3 separate regions of the Homo sapiens genome follow, and regions 1 and 2 are each linked to region 3. The links are contacts of gene promoters, found by promoter capture Hi-C in blood cells and fetal thymus (Javierre and others, 2016). All regions are on one chromosome and are shown on one strand. The core of a region is centred on a gene start or on the middle of the fragment in contact, and the rest is flanking DNA. Distances in the headings are between cores, read along the strand shown. Region 1 overlaps DOT1L (DOT1 like histone lysine methyltransferase). Region 2 overlaps DOT1L (DOT1 like histone lysine methyltransferase). Region 3 holds the start of BTBD2 (BTB domain containing 2).

The links. The method cuts DNA at HindIII sites, captures the fragments that hold promoters and counts their contacts. A CHiCAGO score of 5 or more calls a contact.
Region 1: a contact is called between a fragment that was not itself captured here and the fragment with the promoter of BTBD2 in region 3, in 1 of 17 cell types (naive B cells). The highest score is 5.2, in naive B cells.
Region 2: a contact is called between a fragment that was not itself captured here and the fragment with the promoter of BTBD2 in region 3, in 1 of 17 cell types (neutrophils). The highest score is 6.5, in neutrophils.

What each region holds. Positions count from the first base shown.
Region 1 is chr19:2,222,143-2,224,928 of GRCh38, forward strand. It overlaps DOT1L (DOT1 like histone lysine methyltransferase), which reads left to right. Exons shown (of 28, transcript NM_032482.3): 24 at 1-417; 25 at 1,139-1,344. Among named protein-coding and RNA genes, the nearest start is that of DOT1L-AS1, 8.0 kb to the left of the region's middle. RefSeq lists a silencer at 1,840-1,899. The HindIII fragment of the contact is 739 bases long and covers 882-1,620 here.
Region 2 is chr19:2,189,946-2,192,703 of GRCh38, forward strand. It overlaps DOT1L (DOT1 like histone lysine methyltransferase), which reads left to right. Exons shown (of 28, transcript NM_032482.3): 5 at 1,067-1,295. Among named protein-coding and RNA genes, the nearest start is that of DOT1L-AS1, 24 kb to the right of the region's middle. The HindIII fragment of the contact is 8,550 bases long and covers 1-2,758 here.
Region 3 is chr19:2,014,457-2,017,156 of GRCh38, forward strand. BTBD2 (BTB domain containing 2) reads right to left here and starts at 1,258. Exons shown (of 9, transcript NM_017797.4): 1 at 841-1,258. The coding sequence starts at 1,247. It overlaps LOC107985278 (a long non-coding RNA gene), which reads right to left. Exons shown (of 4, transcript XR_001753845.2): 4 at 1,889-2,638. RefSeq lists silencers at 855-904, 915-1,064. The HindIII fragment of the contact is 21,370 bases long and covers 1-2,700 here.

The DNA.
Region 1 (2,786 bases), core at 1-2,500, 210 kb after region 3:
GCACAGCCCCGGAACTCGCTTCCTGCCTCTCCCGCCCACCAGCTCTCCTCCAGTCCCCGGCTTGGTGGGGCCGCCCAGGGCCCGTTGCCCGAGGCCAGCAAGGGAGACCTGCCCTCCGATTCCGGCTTCTCAGATCCTGAGAGTGAAGCCAAGAGGAGGATTGTGTTCACCATCACCACTGGTGCGGGCAGTGCCAAGCAGTCGCCCTCCAGCAAGCACAGCCCCCTGACCGCCAGCGCCCGTGGGGACTGTGTGCCGAGCCACGGGCAGGACAGTCGCAGGCGCGGCCGGCGGAAGCGAGCATCTGCGGGGACGCCCAGCTTGAGCGCAGGCGTGTCCCCCAAGCGCCGAGCCCTGCCGTCCGTCGCTGGCCTTTTCACACAGCCTTCGGGGTCTCCCCTCAACCTCAACTCCATGGTAAGGATGGGGACCGGCAGGGCTGGGGAGCGCGGCCTGTGAAAGAAAGACCAGAGGGAGACCGGGCGCGGTGGCTCACGCCTGTAATCCCAGCATTTTGGGAGGCCGAGGCGGGTGGATCACAAGATCAGGACATCAAGACCATCCTGGCTAACACGGTGAAACCCCGTCTCTACCAAAAATACAAAAGATTAGCCGGGCGTGGTGGCGGGTGCCTGGGAGGCTGAGGCAGGAGAATGATGTGAACCCGGGAGGCGGGGCTTGCAGTGAACTGAGATCGGCCACTGCCTGGGCCACAGAGCGAGACTCCCTCTCGGGGGGACAAAAAAAAACACAAAAAAAAACAGGTGGAGGCAGGGGGCCATGACTGAGCCCGGCCATCCTCCACCACGTGCGGCCTGGCAGCCTGGGAAGAGGCGGCCGACAGCTGTCTCTGGGGTTCGGAGTGCGATGCGCTGCCTGCAAGCTTCTTCATTCTCGGCTGTGGGGCCTTAGTGGTGGTGGGCACATCAGGAGGGGGCATGGGGGGCTCTGGGATTGCGGGGTGGTGTGTGAGGACCAGGAAGAACCAGGACAGGGGCTGTACTGGCCGCTGGGCAGGGCATCAGTTTCCTCAGGAGACCCTGGGGTGCAGACAGGAGCCTCCTGGGGCGGGGGGGCTCTCCTGCCTTGGGGTCCCGGGTCTGTGGTATGTGCATCCATTGTGTCTGTCTGCCCTCAGGTCAGTAACATCAACCAGCCCCTGGAGATTACAGCCATCTCGTCCCCGGAGACCTCCCTGAAGAGCTCCCCTGTGCCCTACCAGGACCACGACCAGCCCCCCGTGCTCAAGAAGGAGCGGCCTCTGAGCCAGACCAATGGGGCACACTACTCCCCACTCACCTCAGACGAGGAGCCAGGCTCTGAGGACGAGCCCAGCAGTGCTCGGCGAGTCCAGGGGCCCGGAGGGGGGCGGGGCCTGGCAGCAGGGGCAGGAGGTGCCTGCTCACTGTGTGTGTGTGGGTGGGTGGGTGGGGAGGACCGGCAGGCTCTTAGGGGGTGCCCTGGATGGGAGGAAGGCGTCTGTTTTGTGAGGGGCCTCCCCACAGGTCCTGGGCCCCGTTCCGGGCAGGGCCGGCCTCCCGGGCCATTCGGGGTGGGACACGAGCAGGGCCATCGGTTAGAAGAGGCAAGCTGAGGAGGAGCTGAGCGCAGCAGGAGAGAAGCTTCAGCAGTGAGGCGTTGGAGGTCTCATCCACACGTCTTGCCGAGTGTATTACAGTAGCTTTATTAGATAAAATTCACATATCGTATTCTCCATTTAAAGTGTGCAATTCAGAGGTCTTTGGTATATCCACATTACCACTGCCTAAATCCAGAACCTTCCATCATGTCCTGAGAAAATCTCATCATCCCCTTGAAACACTCACTCCCCTTCTCCTCCCAAGAGCCCCTGGCACCCCCCGCCCCCATCCTACTTTCTGTCTCTGAATCTGAGGGCTCTAGGGACCTCCTAGGAGCGGAGTCACACAGGATGTGGCCTTTTGTGTCTGGCATCTCTCACTGAGCGTGACGTCCTCAAGGTGCATCCTCGGTCCCTGTCGTGGCTGGGTGGTGCTCCACCATCCATCCGCCCTCCGTGCTAGGCTTGCTTACCCTGGGCGGTTGTGAGCAGCACTGCTGTGGCCATGGGTGTGCGTGTTTGTGTTTGGGAGCAAGTTTCCCGTTTCCTGGTGCCTGGGCGGAGGTGCTGGGTGGCCCGGCCCCCTGGGCTCTCCAGCAGCCACACCATTCCACCCTGCCACCATGGGTGCACGAGGGTCTGAGGTCCTCAGTCCCCACATCCTCAACACACTGAATTTCTTGTTTTGATTCTAGCCATCCGAGTCGTCGTGAAGTGATATAACATGGTAGGGTTTTTTGCTTTTTTTTTTTTTTTTTTCCTGAGACACAGAGTTTTGGTCTGTGGCCCAGGCTGGAGTGCGGTGGCGCGATCTCGGCTCACTGACCCTCCGCCTCCTGGGTTCAAGTGATTCTCCTGCCTCAGCCTCCTGAGTAGTTGTGTCTACAGGCACACGCTACCACCGTGCCTCGTTCGTTTTTTTGTTTTATAGAGATCGGGTTTTGCCATGTTGCCCAGGCTGGTCTCAAACTCCTGGCCTCAAGCCTTCTGCCTCCCAGTGCCTCCCAGCGTGCGCCATCACAGCCGGCCCTAAGTGTGCTTTTGGTGGTGTTCTGTGTTAGTTCGTTCTGCTCCTTGCCCACGTGTGCGTGCACGTGTTACACGAGAAACATTGTAGCACCTGGATGCTCTGTTTTGCATTGGGATTGCTCAGCTTAGTGGTTTCCAGGATCTTTAGGAATTTGTGTGTCCCTGGTGTGTTCTTGGG
Region 2 (2,758 bases), core at 172-2,671, 180 kb after region 3:
TGAGTGGTGTGGGGGCTGCCGAGGCTGGGCTGTGTGCTGTGGCCGTGTGCCAAAGCAGAGCCGTCCGTGGTTTGTGTGCTGAGGCAGGGCCCTGAGGGTTGTGGTGTCTGCACACGCCTCTGCAGCCCTGGGTTGGTGTCCGCAGGTCCCAGCAGAGGCGGGGTCCCTGTCCTCCCCGGGCTGTGTGAATGCCGGCCTTCCCCCTTGGACCTCCCCCACACCGCCTGCCTTCATCAGGCTGGATGCCGGCCTGGGCTGCACCCTTGGGCACCCCGGTCCTGCTGTGTCTCGTGAGGCTTTCCTCACAGAGGACGGGGCACACAGTGAGCTGGGGTGTAGCAGGGAGGGGAACGTGCTGCTTCCCATGTTCTAGAAAGCACCGGGGGCCCCTGGTGCATGGGGGTAGGGGAGCTCTTTCTTGAAGGTCTTGCTGTGGAGGGAGCCCTGGTGGGGGTGGCATGGGCTCACTTGGCCCTCCTGAGTGGGACTGGGCTGGGCTGGGCTGCCCCATCAGCCTGCCACCCGGCTCTGGCTTCCCCTCAACCTCATGCATGCAGCTCTGTGGGCCCCTGAGAGCTGAGCTGGCCTGGGCGAGAGGGGACCACCTCAGCCTGCTGCAGCTGGTGGGGAGGAAGGCGGGGTCCCACGTAGTCGAGTCAGATGAGGTGTGGTAGGCTCAGGGCTTTCACGGGGCTCGTGGCACCTGACGGGGGTCCCTTGGTGTCAGCGCCCCACCCTGCTGCCTTGGCCCAGAGGAGGGGTGGTGGTCTTGGTGGCCTGTGTGGTTTTGGTGGTCTTGCCAGTGGGGAGAGAGGCCCGTGGCAGGAGGTGGAGCCTCCTAGGACCCCTCTGAGTTGGGGCCTGTCCCTGGGGATGCTGCTTTACTGCTTGTAGGAAATGGGGCTGGGTTGGAAACTGACCTGGGAGCCCGGCAGCCACCCTGCAGGGGGACGAGAGGCCATGCAGCCGACTCCCTGCTTCCGCTGGGAAAGGTCCCGGGTCTTGGTGGTGGAGGGGCTGGGCCGTGAGGTTTATGTGACATGGCCGGGCCACCCTCCGTCCGCAGTGGAAGGGCACCACGCAGCCCATGAAGCTGAACACGCGGCCGTCCACTGGACTCCTGCGCCATATCCTGCAGCAGGTCTACAACCACTCGGTGACCGACCCCGAGAAGCTCAACAACTACGAGCCCTTCTCCCCCGAGGTGTACGGGGAGACCTCCTTCGACCTGGTGGCCCAGATGATTGATGAGATCAAGATGACCGACGACGACCTGTTTGTGGACTTGGGGAGCGGTGAGTGTCGCCCGCCATGCCCGGCTCCTGTGCACTTCCAGGCCACACGCTCTGTGCCTGCCCCATGCCTGCTTGGAGAAGAGTTTATCAGGGACTTGCGACGTTGGCGTGGACAGTGCTTCCTTCTCCCAGCGCCTCTGTCCCGCTGTGGGGCCGTTCCTTTCCCCAGCCCTGACCGGGCTCCACCCAGAGGGGAGAAATCGCAGGAACCCAGTGGCTCCCAGACCAGGCCCATCCTCCCAGGTGCCCGGAGACTCTGCTTTCGTCCTGCTTCCCACCAGCTGGGGAGCTAGACCTGTGCACCCTCTACTGCTCGCTCCCAGAAGCTGCCACTCGCTAGCCTGGGCCCCAGCCCGGGCCCCACCCACGGCTGCAGCCTGCCGCAGTCCTTCCCTGGGCACACCTGCTCCCTCCACAGCGGCTGGAAAGGTCCCCCGCGGAGGAAGACCCCAGGTCCCTGGGCTCCCGGAGGCCCTCGCGCCCTCCCTGCATCCCCAGTCTCCCTCGGCACCCCTGCGTCTGGGCCGTGCCCTGCCCCTCCCAGGTTGGGGCTCCCACCTGCTGGCATTCTTTCAGCCTCTGCCTGCACTCAGACTCTGCTTGTGAGGTGTCGTCTCCTCTCAACCACGGGCGGGGCTCCTTGAAACGAGGCCCTAGGTGTGTCTTCAGCAGCAGCGTGGCCTGGCTGAAGCACAGATGAGCGGCCCGTACACGAACAGCCTCAGTAGCCTGACGAATTCTTGATAGGACCACCCCATCCAGGCTGCAGGGCTGACGGGGCCACCCAAGGGTCAGACAGTGAAGGCCCCTTCTCCACAGTGTCTAGGCTGTCCCTGGGCTCCTTGGACCTCGATGGACATGTGAACCTTGTGCCTGCAGGCACGCGAGCCCCACGTCTGCCCCCTTTCCACAGTCCTGGCTTTGACGTGGGGAAGGGGCCCCAGGGGCAGGGACCAAGAGGACTTTGCACAGACTGGGTGTGGCAGCTCACGCCTGTCATCTTAGCACTTGGAAGGCTGAGATGGGAGGGTCACTTGAGGCTAGGAGTTCAAGACCAGGCTGGTCAGCATAGCAAGATCCCACTTCTGTTTATTTATTTAAATTTATTTTCAAATTTAAAAAATGCAATAAAAAGAATGTGTATCGTCTGGACGTGGTGGCTCACGCCTGTAATCCCAGCACTTTGGGAGGCCAAAGCAGGCGGATCTGAGCTCCTGAGGTCAGGAGTTCGAGACCAGCCTGGCCAACATGGTGAAACTTTCCCTCTACTAAAAGTACAAAAATCAGTTGGGTGTGGTGGCGCGCGCCTGTAATCCCAGCTACTTGGGAGGCTGAGGCAGGGGAATTGCTTGAACTTTGAAGGCGGAGGTTGTGGTGAGACGAGATCGCATCACGGCACTCCGGCCTGGGTGACAGAGTGAGACTCCGTCTCAAAAAAAAAAAAAAAAAAAATGGGGCATATC
Region 3 (2,700 bases), core at 8-2,507:
GGCCAGGTGGGGTCCAGGGATGGAGGGGCCTGGGGTGTAGGCAGGGGTTCCAGCCGGAGGTGGAGGGGCCCAGGGATCTGGGGGCAGAGGTGTCTGGGGACCTGGGGTGCAGGGAGGGGTGAGGTCCAGGGATGGAGCGTCCTGGGGATGGAAGAATGGAGGGTCCTAGGGTGCAGGCGGGGGGTGGAGGGCCCTGAGGATGGGGTATTCAGGGTTCTGGGGTGCGGGCTGGGTGGGGTTTGAGGATGGAGGGGCCCAGGGGCTCCAAGTGCAGGCCGAGTTGGAGGGTCCCAGGAACGGAGGGTACCGGAGTGCAGGCTGGGTGGGTCCAGGGACGGAGGAGAGCAGGGGTCCCAGGGGTACAGGGCCTGGGATCCCGGGGAACAGGCTGGGGGCGCAAGCCAGAGGTGGAGGATCCAGGGGGGCCTGGGGATGGAGGGGTGCAGAGGCCCAGAGTGCAGGCCTGGTGGGGTCTGGGGACAGAGAGGTGCAGAGGCAGGGACAGAGGGGTGCAGAGCCCAGGGAACTGGGTGGAGTCTAGGGATGGAAGGGTGCAGGCCCCGGGGTGCAGGCCGGGTCGGTTTCAGGACCGGAGGGGTGCAGGGGTCCCAGGGACAGAGGGGTGCAGGGCCTCAGGTGCAGGCCCCGGGGTGCAGGCCGAGTTGGGTTCGGAGCCTGAGGATGCAGGGGTGCAGGGGTCCCGGGGACAGAGGGGTGCAGGGCTCGGGGATGGAGGGGTGCGGGGGTCTCGGGGACAGAGGGGTGCAGGGCCTCAGGTGCAGGGCCCGGGCAGCAGGCTGGGTGGGTCGGGGCCAGGGCTGGCGGGGTCGGGGCGCCCACCTGTGCGCGGGGATGCGCTGCGAGCTGAGCCCCTTGCCCACCAGGAAGTGCACGTCGCACAGCACCTCGTTGTTGAAGAGGAAGGCGAAGCGCTCCTGCACGGTGGGCTTGCTGGCCTGCCAGTTGTACGCGGCCTCGCGCTGCAGCGCCGCCGCCCCCGGGCCCGCCGCCTCCTCCGCCCGCTCCGCGCCCGCGGCCTGCGCGTCTGTCCCGGGGCCCGGCGGGGCGGGCGGCGTCGGCCCAGGGGCGGCGGCGGCGGCGGCGGCGGCGGCGGCGGCGGCGGCCGCGTTGCCGGGGGCCGGGGTGGCGGCGGCGTTGGCGCTGGGCCCGGGACTGCCCCCCGTGCCCGGGCCGACCCCGACCCCCGGCGGGCACGACGCACGCCCGCCGCTCCCACCCGCCGCCATTTTGTGGCTGCGGCGTGGGCGGGGGAGGGGAGGAGGGAAGGAGGGAGGGGAGGAGGGAAGGAGGGAGGGGAAAGGAGGAGAGTAGGGGGAGGAGGGGGAGGAGGGAGGGGAGGGGAAAAGAGGAGGGAGGGGAAAGGAGGGGAGGAGGGAGGGGAGGGGAAGCGGGAAGGAGGGAGGGGAGGAGAGGGAGGGGAAAGGAGGGGGAAGGAGGGAGGGGAGGAGAGGGAGGGGAAAGGAGGGGGAAGGAGGGAGGGGAGGAGAGGGAGGGGAAAGGAGGGGGAAGGAGGGAGGGGAGGAGAGGGAGGGGAAAGGAGGGGGAAGGAGGGAGGGGAGGAGAGGGAGGGGAAAGGAGGGGAGGTGGGAGGGGAGGAGGGAGGGGAGAAGGGAGGTGAATGGGGGAGGCTGTTGCAGGGGAGGGGACGGGGAGGAGAGGGAAGAGTAGGAGGGGCCTGTAGAGGGGAGGAGCTGGTGGAAGACCTCTTGCTCCACTCCCTAAGCATCCTGACCTGAAGCCCAGACTCCAGACCGAGGTCCAGAATTTGGGGTCCAGGCACCAGGCCCCAGACTCCAGACCGGGAATCCTAAACCCTGGAGCACAGACCTCAGTCCGGGATCCCAGGCCTCAGACCTTGAATCCTAGATCCCAGACTCTGAACCCCAGACTTCAGACTCCGGATTCCAGATCCCATACCTCAGACCCGGAACCCCCAACCCAAAGACCAAGCGCAAACTCCAGACCCCAGACCCCGGACCCAGGTGGCGGGCCTGCTCCGTGGCGCAGGCTCCGCTGTACAGAGACATAGCCTGAGGCCGGGAAGCTGCGGATGAGCGAGCAGGATGCAGGCCACGTGCACTGACACTCAGCAGACGCCCAGCACCCTCTCCAGGCCAGGTGTGGGGGGTGGTCAGTGTGGACGGAGCTGGGACTCCCCCAAAACGCTTACTACATACATAATGTCAAGGTAGACAAATGCCACAAAGATTGAGGAACCAGGTCGGGCGCAGTGGCTCACGCCTGTAATCCCAGCACTTCAGGAGGCCAAGGCGGGGGGTGCATCACCTAAGGTCAAGAGTTGGAGACCAGCCTGGGCAACATGGCAAAACCCTGTCTCTACAAAAAATACAAAAATTAGCCAGGCGCGGTGGCTCACGTCTGTAATCCCAGCACTTTGGGAGGCCGAGGCGGGCGGATCACCAGGTCGGGAGATCGAGACCATCCTGGTGAAACCCCATCATGGTGAAACCCCATCTCTACTAAAAATACGAAAATTAGCCAGGCTTGGTGGCGGGTGCCTGTAATCCCAGCTACTCGGGAGGCTGAGGCAGGAGAATCACTTGAACCTGGGAGGCGGAGGTTGCAGTGAGCCGAGACCGCGCCATTGCACTCCAGCCTGAACAACAAGAACAAAACTCCGTCTCAAACAAACAAACAAACAAACAAAACAAAACAAAA